Linked DNA regions of Homo sapiens: region 1 is linked to region 2. Evidence: promoter capture Hi-C in 16 types of primary human blood cells and fetal thymus (Javierre and others, 2016). All regions are on one chromosome and are shown on one strand. Each heading gives the region's core, a stretch centred on a gene start or on the middle of the fragment in contact. The rest is flanking DNA. Distances are from core to core; before and after follow the strand shown.

The links. The method cuts DNA at HindIII sites, captures the fragments that hold promoters and counts their contacts. A CHiCAGO score of 5 or more calls a contact.
Region 1: a contact is called between the fragment with the promoter of GAS5 here and a fragment that was not itself captured in region 2, in 1 of 17 cell types (non-activated CD4 T cells). The highest score is 5.8, in non-activated CD4 T cells.

The regions. Positions count from the first base shown.
Region 1 is chr1:173,864,543-173,870,561 of GRCh38, forward strand. It overlaps GAS5 (growth arrest specific 5), which reads right to left and starts at 3,447. Exons shown (of 12, transcript NR_002578.4): 1 at 3,418-3,447; 2 at 2,449-2,501; 3 at 2,219-2,254; 4 at 1,986-2,025; 5 at 1,635-1,664; 6 at 1,315-1,352; 7 at 929-1,005; 8 at 687-740; 9 at 133-162. ZBTB37 (zinc finger and BTB domain containing 37) reads left to right here and starts at 3,838. Exons shown (of 5, transcript NM_001122770.3): 1 at 3,838-3,863; 2 at 4,383-4,578; 3 at 5,658-6,019. The coding sequence starts at 5,684. SNORD75 (small nucleolar RNA, C/D box 75) reads right to left here and starts at 2,396; the gene lies at 2,337-2,396. It overlaps SNORD74 (small nucleolar RNA, C/D box 74), which reads right to left and starts at 3,203; the gene lies at 3,132-3,203. It also overlaps SNORD80, SNORD79, SNORD78, SNORD44, SNORA103 and SNORD77, and 1 more gene. RefSeq lists a silencer at 3,873-4,282 and enhancers at 3,917-5,116, 5,631-5,730. The HindIII fragment of the contact is 5,638 bases long and covers 1-5,128 here.
Region 2 is chr1:171,741,574-171,747,869 of GRCh38, forward strand. It overlaps VAMP4 (vesicle associated membrane protein 4), which reads right to left and starts at 492. Exons shown (of 8, transcript NM_003762.5): 1 at 337-492. The HindIII fragment of the contact is 2,003 bases long and covers 1,763-3,765 here.

The DNA.
Region 1 (6,019 bases), core at 2,197-4,696, 2.1 Mb after region 2:
TGCCCTACTCAATTTCCTTCTCAGTCACATTTTAACTTTTAAACAGCTAATCACTCCCATCTACAGATTAAGGTGTATATGCCACCAAAACCTTTTGCCACCTTAAAAATTTCCTTCAAAGTTTAAACTAACCTGCATTTCTTCAATCATGAATTCTGAGTCCTGAAATTAAGGGACAATACACAGTAAGACAACTTGCATACAATTAGGAGTAATCCAAAATCTCCAAACATTATAGAATGGCTATATTCCCCTTTTCGGGGCATAAACTAGAATGTTACCGCCAGATACATCAGATAGGAGCGAAAGACTTAATATTGCTCATCAGCGTTAGTCTGCTGAACTATGTTATCATCATTGTATCGGCTTTACAACACTTAAAAACCAGACTTGAGGCGGGGCATGGTGGCTCACGCCTGTAATCCCAGCACTTTGGGAGGTCAGTGCGGGCAGTATCACTTGAGGTCAAGAGTTCGAGACCAGCCTGGACAACATAGCTGTACAAAATTAGCCAGGCATGGTGTCACATGCCTGTAATCCCAGCTACTCAAGAGGCTGAGGCAGGAGAATTCCTTGAACCTGGGAGGCAGAGGTTGCAGTGAACTGATAGTGCCGCTGCACTCCATTCTGGGCAAGAGCTAGACTCTTGTCTAAAAAAAAAAAAAAAATACTTGGAACTGCTATACCTTTGCTTCTTTAAAACTTGCTCCACACAGTGTAGTCAAGCCGACTCTCCATACCTGTAGAAATTTAATCTCCTTTACCAATAGGTAGTAATAGGTGGATTTCTAAAAGATTTCCCAACTACTGTTTCAGTTTAAGATTAATCTCCATTTTCTTTCTCAGAGAGATTCCCATCTGCTTTAATTTTAAAATCATCACTAACAGTAGCTCAATCAATTAACGTTAACATCAATAAAACATGTACCTTTAAAAGGTATGACAGGAACTGTCTTCATGTCCTTACCCAAGCAAGTCATCCATGGATAAAAACGTTACCAGGAGCTGGAATACAAATGAGGACTTCCATTAAAATGCTAAACATCATTAAACTCTTTTCAAAGTTGTCTGTCACAGGGTTCTTCAGTGTTACCTTTGTCTACATGCTCATTTCAGGTCAGACATTTGATCAACATCATTACACAAACCCCGTTCCAAACATGCTCAAGGAAAACACATAAACACTGTTCCAGACATGCTCAAGGAAAATACAGTCAGTATTCATCAGCCAAGCCTTAAGCCATTAGCTCAGCAGTAAGCATATCACCATCAGCATTTTCATTAAGTCTATCTACTGTTTTCATTAATACTTACCAGAACCATTAAGCTGGTCCAGGCAAGTTGGACTCCACCTAAGAAATAAGAGTGGTCTTAGAATAGCCACAGATGAGTGTTCACCCCCTGCCAAAACTAACAAATGCCTTTAGTCAGTTAGAGCTAATTAAGACCTTCATGTTCAGTCAGCATTTGCTTATCATCATCCAGGCTGCATTTACAAACTTTCTTATTAATCATAACAAGACAAGAATCCGCCATTTATTTAATGCATTCAGCACTAGGAGGTAACTAAAAAGCCATTTGTGCCGTAGGAAGTTTGCCCAGTTACCTGCTTACTTGGATACAGTTTCACTTACCATTTCAACTTCCAGCTTTCTGTCTAATGCCTGTAATTTTAATACAAAATTGTCAGCAAAAAATATTTTAATGGTAGATTGGTGGTACACTGCTTAACCATTAACAGCAAACCACAACTACCCCAGATACATCAGACAGATAGTACATCTCTTCATGATTAAATCTGCTGAACTATGCAACCATCATAGTATCTGTTTTCACATTTTCTTCAGTATTAAACTTAGTATCAATATGAGAGCAAAATTCTCATTTGAAAAGAGGGGAGAGAAGCACTAACATAGATAATCATCATTGCTTTGGCTATTTTCTAATCCCTTAAAAGTGAGAAGTACAAAATAGAGGTGTCTCACCTGTGTGCCAATGGCTTGAGTTAGGCTTGCTCTTTAGGACCTGGGAAGAAACAACTTCATGTGAACTTAGGTGTACTCTCTATGTTCCCCAACTCACCATTTTGGGTGCCTCAGTTAAGATAATGGTGGTTAAGATCCTCATCATTCTAGCACTCAAGAGTAGCAAATAAACTGTCATCATTGTGGCACATCCAATGGCTTTAAACCTTTTTGAGAGGGAATTTTCAACTTACTTCAGTAGCTATTCTCATCCTTCCTTGGGGACACAACTAGAAAACAAAAAGATGCAAGCAAAACAGTGAGAATGAACCTCACAGCAGTCACGTTAAATATAAATGCTGTTAACATTAAAGCCTCAGAATAGAATTTCAGAAATCCCTTCTGTCCACTACTCTTAAAGCATCACAGGCTGAGACCACCTCTTAGATTTCATTCTTCCCACCATACTTTCCCCAATTCTTACCTGTCCATAAGGTGCTATCCAGAGCCACACTGCATCTGCACCCAGCACCATACCTAAAGAGATCAGGTACAGATTTTAATTCATTGTTCCACGGTTCTTTTTTTTAAAGAGTGTTCTTTAAAAAAACGGTTCGTCTTTTTAAACCAATGATGCAGGTAACATACCATTCATTATCTAGCGACAGGTAAAGGATACACTTAATGTTACAAAGAAGCACTGCACCCGCAGTTAAGAACCACCGATGGCGGCCGGGCGCGGTGGCTCACGGCTTGTAATCCCAGTATGTTGGGGGACCACGGCTGGTGGATCACCTGAGGTCAGGAGTTCAAGACCAGTCTCGCCAACATGGTGAAACCCCGTCTCTACTAAAAATATAAAAGCCTAGCATGGTGGCGCGCGCCTGTAGTCCCAGTTACTTGGGAGGCTGAGGCAGAACTGCTTAACTCGGGACGCGGAGGTTGCCATTAACCGATGTCGAGCCACTGCATTCCAGCCTGGGTGACAGAACGAGGCTCGGTCTCAAAAAAGAAAAAAGAAACACTAATGGAAATATTGGTGACACTGCGGAATGCAGGCACTTAAGCACGTGGACTACCACCGACAGCCTTTCATGAGAGCGGACGGCTGATGGAGGCTCGGGTCACGGCCCTTAACAATAGCTTACTCGGGTGACTCGGCATGTGCCACCATCAGAGCGGTTGGCATTCATCATTACTCTCAGATGTCCCTACCAACACAGGCTTCATCAGAGGCAGGGCACGAGAGCCGAGGCTTCTCCGCAGTTCTACTCTAACATAGTCGCAGCTTAGGTCACGCATGCACCATATGTGCAATCCCCCACCATCCTCAACTTGTAGGCCCTGCAAAGGCGCGCGACTGGCTTAGAAGTCCCAGTCAATTCAGGGTGACCTTAGCAGACAAAGGCTGGAGCGCCCCAAAACCCGCAACATTCGCAAAGATAAAACATACCTCACAGGAGTCGACTCCTACCTCGAAAAGACAGTATGGTGCCTGGGCTCCTGTATATAAGAGTTCTTTTGATGACGTCACGACGCACGCTCCCGGCAGCGTCCGCTTCGGCTCCTCCCCCTAACCTCCCTCAATCTTCCTCTCATCCAGTATCACCTTCTTCCCACCCCTTAAGTCCGCCCCTTTTCCCCGCCCTTCCTCGCCATTGTGGGCAGAGACATGACCGTCCACGTGATGCCGTGCTCCCGCCCTCCTCCCGACTGAGGAGGAAGAGCAGAGAGGGGAGGGGGCGCGAGGCAAGGAAAGCTCTGGGGATGGGGGAAGGGGGGGCGGTGTAAGGCTGAGTGATTTCCTTCCGGCACGTCGCCCGCTCCGTGGGAGGGGGTGGGGGATTTCACTTCCGGGACGGTGTTCCGGCCCATTCCGGCCCATTTCCACCCCCGGAGGTAGGTGCTGCTCCTTGACTGGACTCGGGCCCCACACCCCAGTGCCACTTCCCTGCACCGGGGTCACCTCGCCCGCCCTCCGCCGCAGCGCGCTCCTGGGGCGCTCAGCTACTTTCCTTCACCCCGCCTCCAGGCACCGGGCGACCTTCCACCCCCTTGGCCCCCGGCCGGGCTGATCTGCCGGACCCGCCCCCTCGCGGGGCCCCTCCCTCAGGACCCCGGGAAGGGCGGCCCCCTCCCCCACCGCAGCCGGGACACACCCAGATACGCACACCCACCTCCTGGCAGCTCCCCGCCCGCCGCCGCCTGGAGCCGGTCCCTGGGCGCCGCCCCCTTCCTAGTTCTCACCTGAGCGCTGGCTCCCCCGCCCGACGCCTTGTCCCCATCTTCTCCGAAGTTCCTCAGTGACATTTTGCCCTTTAGCCAGTTCCCCTCTCCCCAGGCTTCCTAACGCAGAAGAAAGCTGCTCAAGTGCTGGAGTGGCCAACCCCATGCCGTTCCCAATTCTCCCTTTTACAGCTCTCACCCCTCCAGTGCCGACGGTAGCGAAAGACTTTCCTCCAGGGGCTTCCTCACTGGGGAATTGCCGGAAAGAGCAAACAAAAAAGGCGCTGGTGTAGGCTCCAAAATAAACACATCTGAATTCATGATGGCATCGACAGAGGCTCTTATTGGATTAAAAGTTTCAAAACAAACAATAACGCTTTGGAAAAAGGTCAGATTGGCTAAAGTTGATTGTTGAAAACAGTGTATACACTTCCCTATTTAATAAGTGTGTTGTTAATGCGGGGCAGTACTGTGAGCTTGGCAGAGTAAGTTCCTGAAGTTTCAGGTGTGGTGTAACTATGTAATATATAGATAAGTGAACGCACATTGGGCTTAAGTAAATGTCTTCCTGTTCGGATTTATACAAACTATTTTCAGTAGTTGAAACTGTACTTTCAACTATCTTGTATACAGCTTCAGGTTTAGTGTTTCAGCCATTTTTTAAAAATATTTTAATGGAAAAATGTTGGCATACTTGGTAAATGCTGTATTTTTTCATCGGATCTGGAGAACTAAGTTTCAGGATGGAAGTATTCATCACCACCTCGGAATTGCCAACTTCGAATTTGGCAGATTTACCCAGCTTTCCTAATTTTGACAACTGAACTTCACATTCTCTGCATCTTGGTTGAATCCTGGCACAGCTGTGGGATTTTTCCTAGAGTTTGCTTCACAGCCCTATAACCAAAGTCTTTTTGTGGGGGGGGCTCTGATTCTTAAGCTTAGAAATATTAGCCTACATTCATGTGGGATATTAGTCCTTTTATAAAATAATAAACATAATTCTTGCAGCAGGTAGTAAAATACTAAGAAGAGGGATATCAAGCTATGTAGAATTGCATTTATTCAGAAAGCTTTCCTCCTCCAGAGAAAAGTTGTAAAGTTATGAGATGTTATATTCAGTCTGCAAGTACCTTATAGTTAACACTTAAAAGTCCTTCCCCCTACCTTCTGTTGAACTTCTGTTTTGATGTTATATAACTTATTAGTAAGGAAAGCATGGTCATAACATGAATTTTTAGGAGTCTAAAGATCACTTTTTAGTTTTAACTATGTCCTCCTGTGAAACTTAAACTGAAAAACCTGTTGGTGATTCTGTTTCCACATCTAAATATAAGGAAGGTATTTCTTTTATCTGGAGATTTTGAAACTTTACCAGATAACTATGTTTAAATACTTTTGAAATGGAAACCATCCGGGAAGTAAAATTATAATTATTAATGAGAATATGGTTTCTTTTTTCAGCAGGGTTGAATGCACCCTCAGGCACGACCATGGAGAAAGGTGGGAACATACAATTGGAGATTCCTGACTTCAGCAACTCTGTCCTGAGCCATCTAAACCAGTTGCGCATGCAGGGCCGTCTCTGTGATATTGTGGTCAATGTGCAAGGACAAGCTTTTCGGGCTCACAAAGTGGTGCTGGCTGCCAGCTCCCCCTATTTCCGGGATCACATGTCCTTGAATGAGATGAGTACAGTCTCCATTTCAGTCATCAAGAACCCTACTGTTTTTGAACAGCTCCTTTCTTTCTGTTACACAGGGCGGATATGCCTGCAACTGGCAGATATCATCAGCTACCTAACAGCTGCCAGTTTTCTGCAAATGCAG
Region 2 (6,296 bases), core at 1,514-4,013:
GCCCCATTGTACCCCCTGGAATTCCTCACTACATCCCACTCTTAACAAACCTTCCCCATCCATGGTACTGTTCTCTTCCCATCACCCCAGAGTACCCCTCAATTCCAATTCTTCTCTCCCTCAACTGCTCCTCGTCCGCATACCCCTGTCCTCGTCTTCCTTCCTCACGGCACCCCCGGCCCCAACCTTTTCCCACTCCGGGGTCCCTTCCTAGATCCCCGAGGCCCGCCGACCAGCCCGACTAGGACGTCGGGGGGCGGCAAGGCAGGGGCGTCTTCTTCGTTTCCTTCCTCCTCACACCAGCCCCTCCCGCTGCGAACAGGCCAGCGCCAGTACCTGAGGCTCCCGGGGAACTCCCGGCAGCTCTCCCGGGCTGGCGGTGCTGGGCGGGCGGGGGAAGGAGTAGGAAGCCGAGGTAAGAAGCTGGGAGGGGGAGACAGTTGGTGCGGACCCGGCGTCGGCCGCAGCGCCGCAGCAGCGCCTCCGCTCATCGAGCCGATCGGCGCTCGGCGGCCTGGCGCCAGGCGGAGGGGGCGGGTCCAGGGCACGGAGATAATCGAGGAAGTCGATCCGCCGAGCCCTATTCACCTAAAAGAGCCCGAACCCACACGCAGTTTAGATGCATCTCTCCAAATTTATGCTGTGCTTTAGGGGAGGAACAACCACTGGTTGTCCACGTTCCGGTCGTGATCCGGCGTGCGTGGAGGGCGATTAGGGGAGGAGTGGGAAACTTCCGAGAACCGCTCGGGACTGGGCGCCGCGCCGGAGTGCGTGGCTGGGGTGATGAGGCGTTAGAAAGAAGGTGGTGCTTGGTGGCACATCCGTCCCTCTGGCTGACTACGTTGAGTGGCAAGTGGAGAGTGGCTCGCAGCTCGAGGACCTGCTTCGGGTTCGTCTGGGGCCTTTTCTGAAGAAAGGAGATCTGTTTGATCCCCTGTTTACAGAATTAGAGCTAGACTTGGAAAGAGATGTTAAGGCCAGGCTCCTCCCTTTAGATAGGAGGAATATCTGGTTCAGAGAGGAGATTGACTTAAAGTTAACACGGCTAGTTTAGATAGATACGGGACGAGGGCTCGGTGTTCTTTTCCCGGTATCCCTTAGTTGTAACCTGAAAGCCTTCAGGAAATCGCCCTCGCCAGGCCATTCCGCCACTCTGCCCATTCCTTCCTCACTCCCTCCCCCTCCGCCCAATTTGGTATCATGTTTAGATCTCCACGCCCGCAGTAGCTGTCTACCAGAAACAATTCCTAATTTTGTTTTTCCGTTCTCTTATTTGTTTTATTATCCGTTCCTCCCACGCCCCAGCTGGATTATTTTACTCATTGAATCATATTCACTACACATCTTTTAAAATTAATACAGTATCTATGGGTCCTTTGTTGATACAGTATTTTAACTGTCTGAAATACTGTGCCAGGCACTTTCTAAAGACATAAAAATAAGAGGGGGTGTTCAAGAACAAGAGTAGACAAGAAAACAGCAGGAGGAAAGATCTGCGGACACTAAAGGAAAGGAAAGAATAGACACCCTCTTACCAAAAAGTTGTTCTTCTTTTGTTTGATGTTTATTTTTATGTAAAAATGTACTAACGAATTTGAAAGATGCCATGACTAAGGCAACGATGCTCCACTCTGATTCACTTGGAGTTGAATCACTTGGAAAGCTTTTAAAACTACGTAGGTGCCCACGTGCTACCTAGATTCTGATTTAAATGTTCTGAGATTTAGAAACAGCCGTTGAGTTGTCAGTTGAAGGTTCTGAAAGCTTAATGCTAAACTCAGTTGCCTGTGTTTATTCAGTCCAAGTTGCTGTCCAAGTCAGCAACTTGGACTGAAACGGCCCACTTAGAAGAGAAGCCTCTCATGGTTTGTATCCCTGTCTAGGTGTGATAGTGGGTCTACCCCCAGACTCCACAGGTAACCCTGACATTATTTTTTCTTCTACAGCTGATCTTTTTTTTTTTTTTGAGATGAAGTCTCACTTCTTCCCCCAGGCTGGAGTGCAGTGACACAATCATAGCGCACAGCAGCTCTGAACTCCTGAGCTAAAGTGATCTTCCTGCCTCTGCCTCCCAAGTAGCTGGGATTACAGGCATGAGCAGCTGTGCCCAGCACTTACAGTTGATTTTATGTCTGTATATTTGCATGTTATGGGCTATTTTCTGGCTTTGGTGCCTTAGCCAATTAGAGTTTAGCTAGTTATAGCCTCATCTCTTAGACAACTTAAGGTGTGGTCAGTGAGCTCTAACAGGCACGTCATTGCATAGCTTTTACAGATAATCCATTCTTTGGGTTTTTTTGTTTTTTAAACATAATTCTTTAGTCCTGCCAGTCATTTTGGAATGATCGCTTAGGAGAGGGGTAATGCAAGCCCCACCCTTAATCACCTGAACAAAGTCCCTTTGACTAACCCCAATATTTGTGAAACTTAGAAAATGTCATTTTACAGTTAACATGAATCAAATATACCAGTAAGCCTAAAAGATTATAATAGCACTGAGCTTAGAGTCAGAACTCCAAGCAACTTGAGTTACTTATTTCCTCCATTTTCTTTTTAGTGAGCTTCAGTTATTCAGATGTTAGTCCTCTAATTTTCTTTTCCCCTTTTTCAACATGACACCTTCATCCTTAAGAGGGCCTGCTGTCCTCCTAGCTAGAGAATCAGCGTTTTGCTGTCTTTCAGGACTAAATCTCTGGGTTTTTGATGGGATAGCAAAGGGAATCTCAGCATCTGATTCATTCTTAAACAGACTTTATACCATTCCGCCTGTATTTATAGCTCACATCATGCTCTCTTCAGCTTTACGTGGTGTTTCCAATTCCTGAGCCTTATACAGGGTTTCACTGTGTGTATCAGGTTGCTTCATGGCCTGCTTGGGATTCCTACTTTTCAAGTCTGCTAAGGCAATTGCATCTTGATTCATCTCCCTTCTAGCTTTCAATATTTTGTTGCTAAATGTTCAACATTACTTAAAATGTAAAAGTGAACAAGGAAATACCATTTTTCATCTATCAGTGACTGAGAAAGAAGGAGTTGAGCAGAAGATCTGCAATCCAGTCTCTCCCTTCGTAGGGAAATACTCTCAGGAAAGCAAGGTTAAAGCAAGCAAAAAAGCATGTGATTTTTATAAAATATAAAGTATATACTAATTACAGACCTCCTGGCAAACAAACTAATGGCATTTGCTAGCAAGAGAGTCCATATTTACGGAATTCCTCTAACAGGATGTCCCAGGGCTGGGATTGTTTATGGTAAACACATTAAGAATCGATGTGGTAATTCCAGCACTTTGGGAGGCTGAGGCAGGTGGATCACTTGAGGTCAGGAGTTACCAGCCTGGCCAACATGGCAAAACCCCGTCTCTACCAAAACTACAAAAATTAGCTGAGTGTGGTGGTGTACACTTGTAACACCAGCTACTCAGGAGGCTGAGGCAGAAGAATAGCTTGCACTGGAGATGCGGAGGTTGCAGTGAGCAGAGATCGCGCCACCGCCCTCCATCCTGGTCAACAGAATGAGACTCCCTCTCACAAAACAAAAAAGAATCAATGCGGATTTCAGGGGTATGATTAACTGGAAAATACCGCGGAAGTTATGTAACGTAGCATAAAATGGAAGTGTTTTGTAACTGATTTGGCTCCTTCTGTGTAAGTGGGGTGACTGTACACTTGATTTAGAAACCACATCTACTGTCCTGGGCCAGGATGCATCCAAAGCAAGAAGAAAGGACCTGGGGATTACTGGTATCCTTGAAACTATTAGTAAAGCTTGATACTGAGTAAAATCTCTGATTTGAGCCTGATTTGACAGTTTGATCTTTTGTGTTAGCTCAATAGCAAAAATAAAAAAAATTTGATACTACAATATTGGGTGTGTGTATGTGTGGTATGGGAGCAGCGTGGGAGGAACAAGCATTCTTAAACAGTAAGAGTATAAAAATTGGTGCATTTTTAAAAATTTCATGGTAATTATATGTATCAAAATTTTATATGAAGTTCTTTTTGATCTAATAATTTTACTTCTAAAATTTATCCCATGGGTATACAGGTTGTATATAAAAGTATTCTATAAAAATATCTGTTACAGGATTTTTGTAACAGAGTGAAAAAAAAAACTCTAAATGTTCAGCAATAGGAAATTGCTGAAATGAGTCATAGTCTAGCCATTCAATAGAATAGTATGCAGCCATTAAAATGAACTAGATAGATCTATATGTGCTGACATGGAATACCTCTATGATGCTATAAGGTGAGAAAAGTAAGGTGCAAAATAGTGTGTAGACTCTACTTCCATTTGAGCATCACACACACACACACACACACACACACACACACACCAGGAGGACTGTGAATCTGGCATGGAAAGTGTTATGGACTGAATTATGTCCCCTCAAAATTCATATGTTGAAGTCTTAACTTCCAGTGTGACTAGATTTGGAGATAGGGCCTTTAGGACAATAATTAAGGTTAAATGAAATCAAAAAGGCAAAACCCTAATCCTGTAGGGCTAGTGTCTGAGTGCATGGGCACAGAGAAGAGGCCATATGAGAACACAGAAGATGGCCATTTGCAGTCCAGAAAGAGAGGCCACACCATAAGCCAACCCTGATGACTCCTTGATCCTGGACTTTTAGCCTCTAGGACTGTGAGAAAATAAATTTCTGTAGTTAAGCCACCTAGTCCATGGTATTTCATTATAGCAGCCCTAGAAGACTAATACAGAAGGGAAACTTTCTTGATGTGTAGTGTTTTGTACTATTGGAATATCTTTACCATGTATATCAGTTTTTCAATTAAAACAATGGTAGAGGCACTCTCTTCCCCTAAAATTGGGACCACTGGACCAGTTAATTTAAAAAGTCAGTTACAGTGGTACATATTTAAAAATGGCAAATATATACTTTAGTCATTTTATTTTGACTCAAATGTATATGTTCACTCACCAGTCTTGGTAGTAGGCCCAAGACCTTTTATCTGAGCATGAATTTGCTGGTTGGAACACCTGCTTTGTCTTTGTTACAAGTTGCATTGTTTACAGTTTACAGTTTCATTTTCTTCAAAGTGGAATAAGAAGTTAAAGACACCTTTCAAGCAATTTGAATGCCCAGTCAGTCTAGATTTTTGTACAATTTTTTCTCCAAAGTTTTACAGGTTTGTCTTACCTGTGCCTAGTTCTATAGTAATTTTTGTTTGTTGTTCATGTTTATCAATTTAGTTTTTATAGAAAATAACTTTCTATTTGTATTTCATTAGTTTACATATTTAAATATATTCTATAAGTATAATAGGCATAAATACTTTGGAGTACAAATGCAAATTGACTCTTGTAAGCATGTAACTCAATTAGTTTGGAGAAGAAGTATACAGATATCATGTAGTTAACCATAAGCTTTTCATGCTTAGAGTGCCTTGGTGTTATATAAATATGATATTAGTTTATTTTAGTTTTGATTTTGAATGCTTTTAAATCCTCTATCCAGATTCATTAATAACGCTTTTCTAATGCTGACCTCAACTCCTAAATGGATTTCATGACAGTGTGAATAAAAACAAAATAGTTCAGCCCTCTTTTTGTCTCCAGGTAGATGAAGAAACAGAGTGCCAGAGAGTTTACGTGGTTTGTTAACATTTCACTAAGTTTGCTTTATTACTTCTCTTTAAATTTATATCTCCCCTCGGCATGCATTATTTGAAAATTAGTTATAGCTATCATGCCTCTTTACCCCTAAATACTTCATTAGATATCTCCTAAGAACAAGAACATTGTCTTCATAACTGTAATTCAGTTGTCAAATTCAGAAAATTTAACATTGATACAATATTATTTTCTATCAAAGCATCCATATCAAAGTTTGCCAGCCGTCTCAGTTATGTCCTTTGCAATGTGAGTATAGTCTACAGAGAAAATAGTAATGAGTAACAAAGCAAGAGGAATTTAGTTTTTAAAGATAAGTTCAACTATAGTTTAATTATTTTTAATATATATAATAATATGGGAAATGCCCTGATGCCTTCCTCATGAAACTTTAGATGTGACATTATAAGATGGTCTCAGGGAGGTGCTTTGTTTCTCTTCTAACTGTTCTTGTTTATTGAGGTAGTGACATGTTGCAAGAATTTTATCTTGGAGAAATTACCTCCCACAAAGATGGCAACATTAGAAGAACCTGCATAATAATATGCTCTAATTGTGTTACAAATTTATTTTACTACTCTGAAAGTTAAAAATGGTTACCATTTATTTTCTTGGTTTCATGCCTGTTTTCTTAAGAACTATGCTTAATGATTAGCATATGT